2 separate regions of the Homo sapiens genome follow, and region 1 is linked to region 2. Evidence: promoter capture Hi-C in human tissues and cell types (Jung and others, 2019). All regions are on one chromosome and are shown on one strand. The core of a region is centred on a gene start or on the middle of the fragment in contact, and the rest is flanking DNA. Distances in the headings are between cores, read along the strand shown. Region 1 holds the start of SPIB (Spi-B transcription factor). Region 2 holds the start of KLK1 (kallikrein 1).

The links. The method cuts DNA at HindIII sites, captures the fragments that hold promoters and counts their contacts. A contact is called where the count stands out against the background at its distance.
Region 1: the fragment with the promoter of SPIB here is called in contact with the fragment with the promoter of KLK1 in region 2 in 1 of the 25 tissues and cell types used here (IMR-90 fibroblasts).

The regions. Positions count from the first base shown.
Region 1 is chr19:50,417,147-50,420,466 of GRCh38, forward strand. It overlaps SPIB (Spi-B transcription factor), which reads left to right and starts at 1,792. Exons shown (of 6, transcript NM_003121.5): 1 at 1,792-1,839; 2 at 2,800-2,827. The coding sequence starts at 1,817. It overlaps POLD1 (DNA polymerase delta 1, catalytic subunit), which reads left to right. Exons shown (of 27, transcript NM_002691.4): 26 at 26-123; 27 at 696-868. The coding sequence ends at 801. RefSeq lists silencers at 419-558, 589-648, 931-1,099 and an enhancer at 2,639-2,688. The HindIII fragment of the contact is 45,060 bases long and covers 1-3,320 here.
Region 2 is chr19:50,822,370-50,825,753 of GRCh38, forward strand. It overlaps KLK1 (kallikrein 1), which reads right to left and starts at 1,418. Exons shown (of 5, transcript NM_002257.4): 1 at 1,334-1,418. The coding sequence starts at 1,379. KLK15 (kallikrein related peptidase 15) reads right to left here. Exons shown (of 6, transcript NM_017509.4): 6 at 2,920-3,384. The HindIII fragment of the contact is 15,345 bases long and covers 1-2,257 here.

The sequences.
Region 1 (3,320 bases), core at 542-3,041, 400 kb before region 2:
CCTGCTCAGCCGCTGCCGTCCCCAGGTATCCCATCTGAATGCCCTGGAGGAGCGCTTCTCGCGCCTCTGGACGCAGTGCCAGCGCTGCCAGGGCAGCCTGCACGAGGACGTCATCTGCACCAGGTGTGTGCCATGTCCCGACCCTGGGCTGCCCCGCCCCTTCCCAGCTCCCAGGCCTGTGGGTTGTGGACCCAACCTCTGACTCCAAGGCCTCTCCTGAGCATCCTCCCCGCCCATCCCCTTCCAGCTGTGAGCTGTCCTGAGCCTCAGTGTCCTTGTCTGAAAAATGGGCCCATCCCAGCCCCCCAGAGGGGGTGGGTGCTTAGGGAGGCAGCGCCCGGCACCCAGTGTTGCCCGGGAAACGGCTGTCCTCCCGACACACCCAGCCAGCCTGGCCCCCTCCCCAGGGCGGGGCCGGGCTTTCCCCAGGGAACGGGTAGGCGGGGTGGGTTCCCACGCCAGGTGACAGGTGATATACGGCCAGCCATGGCCCTGCACCTCGCCAGGCACCCGCTGTTATCGGCTCCCCCCCCCCACCCCCCCCGTGCCTGCTGAGCAAACAGCCCGCTGCGGGAGGGGGCGGGTGGGCTGGGCAGCAGGCGGGGACCAAAGTCCTGGGAACAGCCCCCACCCCTCTCCCAGGCTGGGCACTGGGCCTTGGCTGGTCCTGACCCTGCCCCTGCCCCCACCCGCAGCCGGGACTGCCCCATCTTCTACATGCGCAAGAAGGTGCGGAAGGACCTGGAAGACCAGGAGCAGCTCCTGCGGCGCTTCGGACCCCCTGGACCTGAGGCCTGGTGACCTTGCAAGCATCCCATGGGGCGGGGGCGGGACCAGGGAGAATTAATAAAGTTCTGGACTTTTGCTATATGGTGCTTTGTGGTCTCTGGGGGACACTGTCTGGTTTCATAAGCCCTGGCCTTGGCTGGGACCCTCCTGAGGCCCGCACCGCCCCTCATCCTCAGCAAAAGCCCCCGGACTCCCACCTGTGCTGCCTGGTTCATGTGGGCCAAGCCTGCCTCAGTTTCCTCTCTGGCCCTGAAGGAACCCTTATACCAGCGCTTCTCTGCCCTGCTTAGGGCCCCCAGGTGTCTGGCCCCGGCCCAGCCCTCCCTGGTGATGACCCTGGGGACCCTGGTGGCTGCCCCGCCCTCCAGGTGCTGACCTGTTTCCTCCAGGCCCTGGGGCAGCCCCAGGCGCACCGGGGCTTCCACTCCTCAGCCCGGCCAAGGGGACCCCCCCATCCCCCGCCGGACCACACACCCACGATGTTTCCACGTCGGGGTCCTGGCAATGGGCTTTGGGTCTGGGTTTCCCCCCAGCGACTCCCATCTCTATCCCCGCAGCCTCTAACTGCCGTCAGATGCCCTCGGCCCTCCCGTCACCTCACACATCCCCCGGGGAGAGTCTTGTGCTTGCCCCTCGGCCCCCAGCCCGCCCCTGCTGGAATTCGGCTCCTGGGTCCAGATCCTCCGTTTCCTGATTCTCCTCTTCAGTGAACCCCAGCCCTTCCTCGATGTTTTCAGGGTTCCCCCAAATCCAGCTCCTGTCCCATCTCCAGCCCTCAAGGTCAGCCCCCCAAACCCAGCCCCACGGGGATCCCCAAATCCAGACAGCCCCTGGCCCGCCATCCCTGCCATGTGACAAAGGGGTTGTGCAATCCAGCCCCCTCCCCTGACCCCCTCCCTGAGGGGATTTTTGAGGAGGGCCGAGCTTGTGGCCAGCGGGCACCCTCCTCCCCCCGGCAGGGGCTGGGCCAAGATATAAATAGGGTTGGCGGCTGCAGCGGGCGGCAAACAGCCCGCCCGGCACCACCATGCTCGCCCTGGAGGCTGCACAGTAAGTGAGGGCCCCCAAACCTGCACCCGGGGTCCCCACCTGCACTGCCCCTCTGTGGGGCCTCACCCATGGGCAGTGGTTTCTCTGCTCCTCACGGCCGGTGGGTGGGAGTGGAGGGGAGGGGTCCACCCTGTCTCTTGCCCCTTCTGGTTCTGTTCCCTCTTCACTTCGGACTCTCCATCCCCCCAGTTCCTATCTTTCCTGGTCCCCAAAGATCTCATTTCCCCAGAACACTTGCTAGCGTGCCCTCCTGCGGGCGTCCTCCGTGGCTCTCACTCTGTCCATCCTCCTGTCTCCCCGAGTTCCCGTATCTGTTCGCTCTGTATCTGGCATCTCCCAGCTCTCAACATTCTGCCTGTTGCTCTCTGTCTCTCTGCCTGTCTCTGTGTCTCTGTCTCCAGTTCTCGCTCTCCCTGCCTTTTGGTCTCCTTCTGCCTCACCCTCACTCTCAGTGCCTCCATCTGGGGCTCCAGGAATCCTCCCCGCCTCTGTGCGTGAATGTCCCTTTGCACACCTTTCTCTGTGTCCCACCTCTCCTTGAGCCTCCTCATCTGAGTCTTCTCCGGGCTTCCCCCTCTCTACCCAGACATCTCTCCATCCTTCTCCTCTGGTCCAAGCTGGACTCAACTGACTCGCCACCAAGGCCGCACTTGACCCAGGCCCCCTCTCCATCCCCACACCTCCTTTCCGGGACTTTCTCTCCCTCACTTTCCCTGCCCCTCCCCACCAGGGTGTCTATGCAAATTCTGGGGAGGAGGGGGACATTTGCCTCCCCCCCACCCCCCACTTCCTGTCCCAGCAGGGGGTAGTGGGGGAGTCCGGTGAATGTGGTGGGGCTGGTCCCTCACACAGGGCTGCGGTGGTCACAGCTGCTGCCGCCTCCCCATCAGCCCCCAACCACTTTGAGATTCAGGTGGCTGGAGGCAGCCTCAGCATGCCCCTGTGTCTCTCCCCCTCCAGGCTCGACGGGCCACACTTCAGCTGTCTGGTGAGTTGGGGCCCCTGGGGGCCAGGGAGGGGTGGCCCACAGTGACCTCCCTCAGAGAAGTCATTTGCTTCCTGCCTCAGTTTCCCCTCCCACCTCTTCCTGTCACTTTGTTTCTGAGCTCCCCCTTGGTATCTCCTGCTACCCCGCATCCGTATTTTTGATGTCTCTCTCCCCCTCTCAGGCTTGAATCCACTTCCTTGTGGCTTTGTATCTCTCTCTGCCCATCCCATATTCAGACAATGTATTTTCATGTTCCTTTCCTTCTTTTTGTTCGTATTTTTAAAAATTGTGTTCTCTAACAGTTCAGATACGGAATACTATACCCAACACCCTTGAACCCACAATCCAGTCTGAGTAATCAAATCTTACTGATGTGGTTGAAAGAAAGCCCCTGTTTATGCCCCTCCACATTCACACCCCAGCCATGTTTTTTTTGTTTGTTTTTGTTTGTTTGTTTTTTAATTGAAGTGTAACTAACAAGTCAGTAAAGTGA
Region 2 (3,384 bases), core at 168-2,667:
AGCTTTAGGGAACCAGGTCTGAGAGGTAAAGAAGAGCATCTGGACTGAAGAGTTTGGGGGTGACTTGGGGTCCCTACATTGGGGTTGGAAGGGGCCAGCTTGGCTGGGACAGTTAGATTTCAGGGCTTCCTGGTTAAAGGGTAAAAGAAAGGGCTATGGTTAAGGCTAGAGGTGGGCTTCCGAGAGGTTTTGGGGTCCTTCCTGTGAACCAGGAATGGCAATCTGAGGGGAGGTTGGGGCCCTGAGAACACAGTTGCGGTCAGGACTGGGACGGGGCTCAGGAGGAGGGAGGCGTGAGTGGCAGTCCTTCTCGGACAGGGTGAAGGATGGGATCTTCGTTTCTCATGGGGATGGGGTTCATGGTCTGAGGGTACTGGAAGGATATGGGGTCCTCTTGGAGGCAATCCTAGGAAGAGGATTGGAGAAGTGGTGAGAACAGGCGCCAAGCAGCTGTGGGAATGCAATGCAGGACCCACTTGACGTGAGGTTGTAGAATCACATACTGACTTGGGGGAGGCCAGGGCAGAAGCGCTGGCTGAGAAGGCATTCAGGATCCTTGGGGTGGGGTTCCAGAAAACCAGAGCTGTGTAGGAACAATTCAGGCAGAGAAGGGCTGGGGCCTGGGGCGGGATGGAACTTCCCCAAGGAAAGGAGCATGTGGTGGGAGGGTGTGGTGTTTTTCCTGGGAGAGCTGGGGGTGCTGGGTGGGAAGGGACATTTGCAGACCCCCCCCCATACCAGATGGGGGATCCCACATGCCAGTTTGGGAAGCAGGGTTTTCTGGTGAAATTTGGGGGACCCTGGAAGGACTGGGGAGACCAGATGTCAGGGTCTGGAGGACACAGTTGAGAGCGGACAGCTGGATGGAAAAAGTCACTGGAGTGTGGTGGGATTTGTAGACTCAGGAGCCAAATAGGTGGCCGCAGGGAACTAGGGGGCAGGAGGGGATGATCAGAGTCCTGTGGGGTGGGGGAAGCCCATGGGAGGGTTGGGGTCCTCCAGAGAGAGACAGAGATGGCCCAGAATCTGCCCCTTTGGTAAAGCGGTGGGACAGGGCGTTGGCTAGGGAAGAGGAGAAAGTACTGAGGCTTCCTGGGAGGAGCAGGAATCTGGTGTGGGAGTGAGCACTATGACAACATGGAGGAGCGGGGGTGGAAGTTTAGGGTGGGGCCGCGCAAGATAGATAAGAGCCGGGGCACCCCGGACTAGGATAGACTGTGGGCCAGAGGGATGAGGGTGGGGTGTTGGAGGGGAAGGTCTTATCGGGGGGGGATGTGAGGCCAGCAAGAGAATCAGGGCCCGTTCCCCCTCCCACATCCCCCCACTGTCTCACCAGTCCCCCCCAGGGACAGGGCGAGGCACAGAACCAGGAACCACATGGTGACAGAGGTGTCCAGGGGCCAGCAGGTGGAGGAACTGGGGAACCTCCCTGGGGAGGCTTTTAAAAGCCCTTATCCCCTCAGAGCCCCACCCCTGCCCTGCTGGCACCCAGATGTTGGCCAAGGCCCTTCCCCTGTTGCCTGGGGGCTGGACAATTGCCCCCCCCCCCTCCGATCCCCAGAGCTGTAGACGGGGAGGGAGAACCAGCACCTGTTCTGCAGGCCCTGGATCACGCTGGACGCATTCCTGGGGTTGAAGCCAGGTGGGGCAGGGCCTGTGGCTCTGGGGCTTTGCTCTGGGGAGCAGCCAGTGAGGCAAGGGGGGACTGAGGGGAAGCAGAAACAGGAAGACGGAGGAATCAGTGACCCCTGGTACAAAGCCCCATATACCTCAGTCTCAATTAAGGCCCTGCACCCCCAGACCTGGTGCCCTCAAACACCAGCAGTTAGGGCTCTGATTCCCTGCACCACTCGGAGCCAAGATACTAGCATCTCAGCTGCCAGTTCCCCCTGAAATATAAGCCTTGGCCTTCAGAATGCCCTGGTTCTTGCACTCCCAGACCCAGGACCTAGGTCCCCAAAGCTACTGTTCCTTTCATAATAAAATTTTGGGGTACACATCACCACATTCCTAGTGCCTCCAGATCCAGGAATGTGAAGTTTCAGGGGTCTCCCAGGGTAAGTTCTTTAGCATTACAAAATCCAGTGTCCCTCCCAAACAATGCTGGGGTCTCAATGAGCCTCCCACTTCTTGCTCCCAGTTATGGGTGCTCAACGTCCTGTCCTCCAAAGTCCCAGAGATCTGGACAACCTTCCCTCCCAGGTCAAGATCAGGCTAACCACAGATTCCAATGACCCTTCCCCCCCACCACCAGTACAATATTTAGGTCTCACGAGCCAGGTTCATGTACTTCAACATTCAGCGACCTTGAACATCACATTTTGTGGTCTCTGAAGATAATTAGGAACTAGATTCCTGCAGCCTCAATGGTAAACCCATAGGCTTCCAACAGGTTGTCTTGGCTTTTTGGTAAAATCAAAGCAGCTCAGAGTTCCAGCCTCTGCTGTATATCAGGGACCTGGCTAAGGAAAGGACAGTATTTGCCTTTTTGCCATGGCTACCAGGAAGCCCAGAACTAAATCTTTTTTTTTTTTTTTTTTTTTCTGAGATGGAGTCTTGCTCTGTCACCAGGCTGGAGTGCAGTGGCGCGATCTCGGCTCACTGCAACTCCTGCCTCCTAAGTTCAAGCGATCCTCCCACATCACCCTCCCAAGTAGCTAGGATTACAGTCGTGTGCCACCACGCCCGGCTAAATTTTTTTAGTATTTTTAGTAGAGATGGGGTTTCACCATGTTGGCCAGGCTGGTCTTGCACTCCTGACCTCAAGTGAGCCGCCCGCCTTGGCCTCCCAAAGTGCTGGGATTACAGGTGTGAGCCACCATGCCCGGCCCAGAACTAAACCTTAAAGAAAAAGCCATTCTTGGTAATCTAGTGTCTGTTAGGTCCTTTAACTGGGATCCAGAGATAGAGGGTATTTACTCAGTGCCAGACACGATTTTAATCAGTTCAGACGAATCATCTCATTTAATCCTCACAACAGCCCTTTGAAGTCAGCAATAAGATGGTCTCATTTTACAGATAAGGAAACCAAGGCGAAGTGAGATTGGGCCTCTTGTTCAAGATCACACGGGTGGTCATGTGTGTTGAATGAATGGAGCCCTGCTTCAAGCCGCTTCTCCTCACCTAGGGATCGGGGTGGTGGGTGAAAAGGAACAGTGTACAGTGTCTCGGGGTTTCTCTTTGACCCCAGAAAAAAGTCACAGAAATTCCTACAGAGCAACTTGGATCAGCGCTTTGTTATCTTGGCATTAAACAGGTGACCTTGAGCGCCAGCTTTGTCCTCAGGTGGGACAAGTCCTTGGCTAACATCTGGGCCTTGGACAGGGTCTTGGGGGATGGCTCCGTTCTGTTCCATGTCAGGCGGGGCTGCTGGCCAGCTGTGGG